Regions from separate parts of the Homo sapiens genome. Here region 2 is linked to region 1. The links are contacts of gene promoters, found by promoter capture Hi-C in blood cells and fetal thymus (Javierre and others, 2016). All regions are on one chromosome and are shown on one strand. Each heading gives the region's core, a stretch centred on a gene start or on the middle of the fragment in contact. The rest is flanking DNA. Distances are from core to core; before and after follow the strand shown. Region 1 holds the start of BRAF (B-Raf proto-oncogene, serine/threonine kinase). Region 2 overlaps BRAF (B-Raf proto-oncogene, serine/threonine kinase).

Region 1 (4,529 bases), core at 1,105-3,604:
TCACAATGATAGTTTGGCAGGTTGGGCTAGCATTATTATAACCTTCATTTTATAGATTAAAAAACAAAACAACAAACAGGGATTTAAGCTTACCTGCTTTGAGATTGTATAGCTAAGGTGTGGAGTGCTGACGCTAAAATCCTGATCTTTGGACTCCAAAGCTTATGCTTTCTCTCGTTTCTCATCTGGATACTGTAGGACTTTAGAATGGCCTAAGGAAGTAAAACAGGATATATCCAGAATTTTAAGGCAAGGTCAGAAAATGTCAAATGAGTAGAACGCTAAGAAGAATCAATATTAAATGGATGAGACCAGTCATCCTGTGGAGAAATAATCATGGAAGATCTGAACTACAGACTGATACTGACAAATAAGGCTAGAATTCAAAATGGAACCAATGTGAGGATAAAAGCCTTTAAAACTTTTAATGTTATAAGGAAGTGTTATAATGATATAACATTTTTAGCAGCTAATTTTTTAAAAATGAAATAGGACAGTTAGAGAATTAACAAAAATCTTGCCAGTTGTGTTTCTGATGAAAGGGTGATGAAAGGGTGATGAAAGGGGAAAAGGTGCCATGACTGGCTAATGGTGCTATTTCAGTCTGCTTCTAAGTATGTCCTTATAGTAAAGGGTGCTTCAGATTAGTTTAGCTTGATGACATCATCCCTTGTGATCATTTACTCTACATTTGCCAAGCCACTTTTTGATTTAAATTTATTTCCTCATAGAAACTTTCCTACTTGGAGGAGAATGTACAATGAAGTTAACAAAGCATACCATGTTCATGTTTTTTTTTTTTTGGAGACAGAGTCTGGCTCTGTTGCCCAGGCTGGAGTTCAGTGGTGCAATCTCGGCTCACTGCAACCTCTGCCTCCCAGGTTCAAATGATTCTCCTGCCTCAGGCTCCTGAGTAGCTGGGATTACAAGTGTGCACCACCACACCAGGCTAATTTTTTGTACTTTTAATAGAGATGAGGTTTCACTACGTTGGCCAGGCTGGTCTCAAACTCCTGGCCTCAGGTGATCCATCCGCCTCAGACTCCCAAAGTGTTGGGATTACAGGCGTGAGCCACTGCGCCCGGCCTACAATGTTCATCTTATAGGTTATATTTTTTCAATGCAGAAGAATGTTAGTATTCTCATTCATCAAGCAGCCTCACACAGCATCCTTTACCTGAGAGTAAGCATCAGCTCCCAGGCTTACGGTGACCCTAATCAATATGAAGACACCCTGTTTCAGAAGTCAGTAGGACACCTTTCTATTTCTTGAATCATCCAAAATACAGTAAGGAGGTCGCTGGTGACTTCCCCCATGATGGGAAGTACTAAAAGGCAGAATCCACTTAGTTTTTCATGACTTCATGTTTAGGTTACTTTGGTGATTCACTCCAGGCCATTGGGAGCCCACAGTAATTGTTTCTCATTCCCGTTTCTCTCTTCCTTAAACTTTTCTTTTCCAATTATTTATTCTTTATTAGATCCATGTATTTTTAATAATGAATTGAATTTCATTCTGTAATTGGGCTTCTCAAAGATAATTGACCTCTTCTCTCCCAATTGTTTTCATGCGTATTTTGCAGAGAATGCTTGGAATATTCTGTTCATGAAAGGCACAAAGTACATAAAATATTTTGAGTGATTTTCTTCAAAATAAAAATGATTAGTTTTGATGCTTCAGATGTCTAGAATGCTATGTGCCTTGTACAGGCCCTACGGCATGGAAAGTGCTCAACTGATATTTGTTAAATGAATGAATCTGGAAAACGAAAAATACACGAAATATTTTATTCCTCAACAATGAAGAAAAAGCTTTCAGACTTCCATTTAGACTCGTTTTAACTGGCTGAATTCTTCAATGAAAAGAAAACACGCGTCGCACTGCTAATTTAGCTGTTCCTAAATATATTTCCATCAAATTCTGCTTGGCTGTTTCAACCTTGGGGTTGAAGTTCTTATTTTGATGACACAGAGACGTTCATTGCAGTGGAAATAGCAAGTAGTATTGGCTTCCCCGCCTTCCTCCCTCTAGGATTTCAACTTCTCCTCCTCGAACACCAGCCCTGCTCTTCTAGTAAATCCCACATTACAGAACAGGCTGAGGACGGAGGAGACAAGAGGAAAGTAGGAAACCGGAGCCATGGAAACGGCGGAGCGGAGGCAAAGTGTGAGAGCGCGGGTGGTTAGAAGGGAAAAAACCCTCCCCGGACGACGGCGCGAAGGCGCGCCTCAGATTACGTCACGCACCGGGGTGACGTCACGACCGTGACACGCGGGTGACGCCGTTGCCGCGGCGACTTCTCGTCGTCTCCGCCCCCTTCCCCCGCTCCCCCCCGCACCCCCGCCTAGCGTCCTTCCCCCAATCCCCTCAGGCTCGGCTGCGCCCGGGGCCGCGGGCCGGTACCTGAGGTGGCCCAGGCGCCCTCCGCCCGCGGCGCCGCCCGGGCCGCTCCTCCCCGCGCCCCCCGCGCCCCCCGCTCCTCCGCCTCCGCCTCCGCCTCCGCCTCCCCCAGCTCTCCGCCTCCCTTCCCCCTCCCCGCCCGACAGCGGCCGCTCGGGCCCCGGCTCTCGGTTATAAGATGGCGGCGCTGAGCGGTGGCGGTGGTGGCGGCGCGGAGCCGGGCCAGGCTCTGTTCAACGGGGACATGGAGCCCGAGGCCGGCGCCGGCGCCGGCGCCGCGGCCTCTTCGGCTGCGGACCCTGCCATTCCGGAGGAGGTGAGTGCTGGCGCCACCCTGCCGCCCTCCCGACTCCGGGCTCGGCGGCTGGCTGGTGTTTATTTTGGAAAGAGGCGGCGGTGGGGGCTTGATGCCCTCAGCCACCTTCTCGGGCCAGCTCCGCGGGCTGGGAGGTGGGCATCGCCCCCGTGTCCCTCTCCGTCATGCAGCGCCTTCCTACGTAAACACACACAATGGCCCGGGGGGTTTCCCTGGCCCCCACCCCAGATGTGGGGATTGGGGCAGCGGTGGTTGAGCGGGAGGCTATCAATAGGGGGCGAAACTCAGGGTTGGTCCGAGAAGGTCACGATTGGCTGAAGTATCCAGCTCTGCATCTCTGTGGGGTGGGGGCGGCGGCGGCCTCGACGTGGAGGATATAGGTTAGTTGCTGGGGCTGAGACAACAGCCCGAGTTACTGTCGCGTGTAATTCTTACATGGTCGTGGGGATGATGGGGCTCATCATTTCCTCTCTCCTCTCCCGGACTGCCCCCCTTCTCAGTCCGCTGCCCTTTTTCACTTTTCTATTTGGGGATTTCTCTTCACCTGTTTTACCCAGCAAATTATTTTGATTTAGTCTTTACTTTTTCAATCCTAAATCGCAGTTTCCGATGCCTTTTCTGGTCTCTGGTCCTCTGTTCCTAATGTTTGTCAGCGCTCTGTCGCTGATTGGTAACCCCCATTCTATTCCCATCTACCGCCCGCTCATTTTCCAGTTGTCGGACCTGCCTGCCTTCTAACCCCAGCTCCCACTTAAGAGCATTTTTGCACTTCTCTTACCCTGGTCCTCTTGAGGCTCTGTACTTGATCTCACCACTCCCTAACATTGTTGTCTGTTGTTATCTTCACAAATCCTCCTGGACACTTTGGAGCTACTTGTTTTCTGAGCCCAGAAGCTGTCAAGATTCCATCAGGTTTCACTTGGCTCTTTTCGCGCTTGCACTACTGGCACTTTTTGGCTAGTCGTCCATTGTGCATTCACACCTCTTTATTCCTACCCATTTTTATAGGTCTGATTGATTTCTTAGTGTTGTCCTCCTTTTTGTCCTATTTTTTTCCTTTTCCTTTTTCCTCTCCAGTCCTTGCTTCTCTCAGCCTGTTTTTGCATTAGTCAGCCTCTTAGCACTGTGTCAAATTATTTACGTTTTTTTATTACATAAAATTTATTACAAATATTTGGTATTTTATTACAGAAAATAATACTTTATTATGCTTTACAAATAAGATATGGTATAATAATTGTGGTTTACAGTTATTGATTAGGTAATGTGACTTACTCTGTTGACTTTGCTCGAAGTTCTCTTTGCTACTTACTATTAACATCTAATTTCTCAATTCTCATAACATCTCATTCTCTCTGCAATTTTTTTTTTGCATCATCATCTTTGGAAATTCATCCAATATGCTTGCTTTATTCAGCATCAGCTTGTTTATGATAATGTTTGTTTTCTACTCTTTATATCATCTTTGTTACATGCCCAAAATGTGTTCTGTACCATCATTTGATCTGTTCTAAAATTTCTCATTTTTAAGTTTCTTAAAATCATTCCACTTTTCAGTATGCATTTTTGCTTAGATCAGTTTCCTCTCATATCTGTTCCTTTCCCCCAGCTTCTTGATTTCTAAGGAGAAAGCTCTTCTCTACTTCAATTTCCTAGTTTATTCTGTTTCCCTTGTTTCCAGTTACCATTCATTTTGCCTTGTTTCCTGGCTTTTGGTACTTAACTTTCTGAAGCTTCCTCTTTTCTTCTCCACACCTCCACGTTCCTTCTTATTTATAAACATCTTTGTTTCCTTTGACATGGAAATTTATT
Region 2 (4,529 bases), core at 1,635-4,134, 170 kb after region 1:
TAGGTCAGTTCTGTGTTTTACCAAGAGTTTAAAATACTTGAAAATGGCAGCAGACTTAAGTGAGAGATGCTAGTGGCTTTTACAAATAAGCTAAGTTGATAAATTAGCCAAATGGCATAGCAATATTATCAATAGGCATTTTAATGATAATCTCTCATTGTTTTCTTAAGGATAAGATCAAGTGATGTAACATGAATGACAGGATTTAACTGGGTTCATACTGGATGAATGATCATACCTGAAGACAGCAAACTATAATGAGATTCCTATCCTCAGTCCTCTCTTGAATATAATTACGTATTTAGAAGTAACTTATGTGAGGAATTATTAGCATGCCGATCTTTAAAAATCTCCTTTTTTCAGCTCTCACGTAAGACTCTTGAAACAAGAAAATAAAAATAACCTATGTTTTATTAAAGAAAAATGAAGCAGGCAAGAAAAAACCGACTTTTTTAGTGAAAGCTAAAGTTTTAATCTGAAATTATAGACCATGTCTACAAAATTTAAAATCCTAAGGCTGGGCGTGGTGGCTCACGCCTGTAATCCCAGCACTTTGGAAGGCTGAGGCAGGCAGATCACGAGGTCAAGAGACTGAGCCCATCCTAGCCAACATGGTGAAACCCCATCTCTACTAAAAACACAAAAATTAGCTGGGCATGGTGGCGCGCGCCTGTAGTCCCAGCTACTCAGGAGGCTGAGGCAGGAGAATCACTTGAACCTAGGAGGTGGAGGTTGCAGTGAGCCGATATCGCACCACCGCACTCCAGGCTGGTGACAGAGTGAGACTCTGTCTCAAAAAAAAAATCCTAGTCAAGTCCAAAAAAAGAGAAATATACAAGTATAAGATGGGGAAAATGTTTTATAGGAGCAATTCAAGAATAATTATTCTAGGATTGTAATTGAATATAATCCTTTTTGTGCCCTTTTTTAAAAATTCTATTTATTGTCATAAATTTTGACCCAGCAGCAGGAAGCATGTAATTAAATATAATTTTAATTGGACTCAGTAGCATGACTTTGGCTGCCATAACAATCACAATAATGTCTGATTTAATGTTGTATGCCCACCATGTGGGAGATGAAGATGAGGATCTCACCATAGTTTGTGTTGGTTAGATCCGATCTGAAGTATTGCTTTTAATTTGGGGCACCACATTATGCTCTGTAAGAATGTGGAAAAGCTGAATCTTGGATAAGAGCTTGAAGTAGTGTGAGAAGAAATTTTACCAGATGATTTTGTAGCTCTAAGATTAAATGGTTCTATAGGTGGACACTTTTTCTTCAAGGAATGAGACTGTTAAGAGAAACCTATCAAGAGAATGTGTTGTTCCTTTGGTTGATAGCATATTTGTTCTTTCCTAGTACTTCTGTAAAACTGTAATGCTCTCCTTAACATCTTACCAAGGAAAGAGGGAGGTCCAATCTAATTATCCTAATTAATGGATTGACTTCTGTGTCATATATGGCAAAGTAAAGTTGATATATTCTTGTTCCCTTCCCTACTCCCAAACAGTTATGTGAGTTATTTGTTTTCTGTTATTTTTGTTTGGGTTTTTTTTTTGGCATTTTCCATTGTAACTGGGTGGTGCTTAGGAAATTACGTTTTAGTGTCCCCCTATATAGAATTATTTAGGGTAGTGATTACTGTGAAACATTATCTTATGTAGGGATTCGGTTGTGTCTCATCCCATTTCTCTAGCTGGGGGATTAGACCCCCTTTTCCTTCCAGCCTTTCATTCTACAGACCTGGACTTCTACTCTTTGCTGCTTTTGTTACAGAAGGATTACAGAAAGAGAATTATTCAATGAGATAAAAATTAACAAAGCAGTTTGTAAGTAATAAAGGATTACACAGGTATAAAGTGTTGTTTCAGGTTGTATTTTTATGCAACTCGGCCTATAACAAATTTATGCTATATAACTTCTATGCTGGGTATATCACTGGTTCCCCAATTACATTTATATCTTGTTAATTATCTAGTGCTTTCCTGGTCAGAAAATTTCTCTCCCCACTCTCCCCAGTTACATTTCTGTCTACTCTATTCTTGCTATATTCCTCTGCATCAAATTTGTTGAAAGGATTAACACCATCCCATGGAGAACACCTTTATCTTCCCCTCTTTTATCTTCAGCATGCCTCTGTATTTTGATATGGTTGAAGCCCATTTGTTTTTGTTTTTAAGTCTTGCAGGAAAAAGAACCTCCTTTCAAAGACCAACACCTTGGCTGTATACTAGATCCCAGGTCTCTCTGAGTGCAGGACCTAGCTCCACCAACCAACACCATCATCATTTATCCCCCTTTCTTTCTAATGGAGACAAGATCTCACCATCTTAAAGCTTTGATTGGGGCCCATTTATTTCCACCAGTTTTTAACTTTGTATGTCACTGCAGAACTTTGTAAGCAGTGAGACCTATAACCGAAATAACATTTTCTTTCAGTGAAAGAGTGACAATATGATGTAGAACACTGAGCCTAAAGTCATGACAAGATAATTTTCAATTGTAGTAAATGCTATGAAGAACATAAACTGTGATATGAATAGTAATTGGAGAAGGGATTACTTTAGATAAATAGTAATTTGAAATGAAAATTTTATCTAGAAAATACTTTAAAATTTTTGATATTGGGAAGAATGAGGACGTTTAAATGAAGATGAGACAGCATGAATAATCTTGGTTATTTGCAAATCTTCCACTTTTAACAGTGTTTATTGCATGATTTTGATTATACCATTTGGATTTTAAATTCTCATTTTAAGGTAAAACTGTCTAATGATCATTGTCAGATTTCAGAAGTGTCATATAGCTATTCTCTCCGGTATTCAATTAAGAAAAATAACCTTGACTAGCACATTATATGCATCTTATTGTAGTTGATTCAGTAGACATGTATTGAATACTTACCACACATACCAAGCACTGTTCTCGGCACTGGGTATACAAAGAAATAAACAAGACACAGCCCTTTTGAGACAGGAGGATCTCTTGAGCCCAGGAGGTGGAGGTTGCAGTGAGCCAAGGTCGTGCCACTACACTCCAGCCTGGGTGATAGAGTAAGACTTTGTCTCCCCAAAAACAACAACAACAATGCTGCCTTTTACTTCAATGAATGTAGCTAAAGCAGTTTTTAGGGGTAACATAGATGATTTTAAAGTTATCGTTGACTTTAAAATAGACCTACTATGGCCATTTTAGAGAAAGTTTTCTCCTCACTAGTTTTAAGAAAATATTTTAAGAATATATGACAACTACCTTTAAAAATAGTTTTAATTACCAAACTGCATGTTCTAGTAGTTTACATTCCAAATAGAAGTGAACATAGGCACGTTGAAAAAACACATGAATCAAGCCATTATTATGATAATTACTACATAAGTTGAGCAGTGAAAGAGCACTTTCAGTTCGGTTAGTCATGGGAAAGCTTCACTCAGGAGTTAGAATTTGTATTCAGTTTTAAAGGATGGATATGAATAGGTGGAAAATAGAACGAAAGCTAACTTGGAGGGTTGGGTGTAGGAGGGGAGCATTGAACACAGTGGTGGGATTAAATATCAAGGTATATTTAAGGGACATGGATAAATAGGCTTGACTGGAGTGAAAGGTTTGTATTGGTAACTAGTAAAAGATAAAGCAAAGTCTTTTAATAGAAAACAAGATTTTGACTGTACCATTATAGTGATATGTTCCTATAATCTTAAATTCATTTACAGTCTATTTTAATATTCTGTGAAGGGTTTATTACAATGTACTATTTTCAGTTGTATCATGATTCTAAATAAGTCTTTACACCCCCAAGTATGTTCTGTAGATTTCGAGGCCAGAGTCCTTTAGCCCTACTCAGGTTAAAATGATGTTTTGTTTTTCAGTTACTTACACGCCAAGTCAATCATCCACAGAGACCTCAAGAGTAATAGTATCCTTCCTGAAATTTGTCTGCGAAGTTTGAAAACATCCTGACTTTTTCTTCTGCATTTTGTCTTCACATTATGTAAAAACAGTTTTCATGCTAAGTTCGATATACTGTAAAGAGAATTAATAAAGGATTGTGCATGCATGTATAGGAGAGCAGGATACCACAGCCTGCTTTTGGTTTCTCGACAACTGAACATTACAAGAAAATCTATCAGAAGTCTTTACAATAGTAGGAGTTTTTGATTGCTTGCTTACATTTTATCAGCACTATAAAACTGATAGTTTTGTAGCTATCTATTAGTCCCTTTCAGACCTCTGACCTTGCTCAGTGGTAGTTGAGATATAACTGAAGACTCTAAATTATATAACAATGAGGTGAGAAAAACATAATATTTCTCTTCCCTAAGTGCAGACTAAGATACTATCTGCAGCATCTTCATTCCAATGAAGAGCCTTTACTGCTCGCCCAGGAGTGCCAAGAGAATATCTGGGCCTACATTGCTAAAATCTAATGGGAAAGTTTTAGGTTCTCCTATAAACTTAGGAAAGCATCTCACCTCATCCTAACACATTTCAAGCCCCAAAAATCTTAAAAGCAGGTTATATAGGCTAAA

What was found. Contacts are between HindIII fragments. The CHiCAGO score rates a contact against its expected background, and 5 or more counts as called.
Region 2: a contact is called between a fragment that was not itself captured here and the fragment with the promoter of BRAF in region 1, in 1 of 17 cell types (megakaryocytes). The highest score is 5.5, in megakaryocytes.

What each region holds. Positions count from the first base shown.
Region 1 is chr7:140,922,754-140,927,282 of GRCh38, reverse strand. BRAF (B-Raf proto-oncogene, serine/threonine kinase) reads left to right here and starts at 2,354. Exons shown (of 18, transcript NM_004333.6): 1 at 2,354-2,717. The coding sequence starts at 2,580. LOC105375536 (a long non-coding RNA gene) reads right to left here and starts at 2,191. Exons shown (of 5, transcript XR_002956518.2): 1 at 781-2,191; 2 at 94-212. RefSeq lists a silencer at 2,462-2,531. The HindIII fragment of the contact is 2,638 bases long and covers 1,815-4,452 here.
Region 2 is chr7:140,753,574-140,758,102 of GRCh38, reverse strand. It overlaps BRAF (B-Raf proto-oncogene, serine/threonine kinase), which reads left to right. Exons shown (of 18, transcript NM_004333.6): 14 at 3,870-3,916. Among named protein-coding and RNA genes, the nearest start is that of NDUFB2-AS1, 59 kb to the right of the region's middle. The HindIII fragment of the contact is 1,085 bases long and covers 2,342-3,426 here.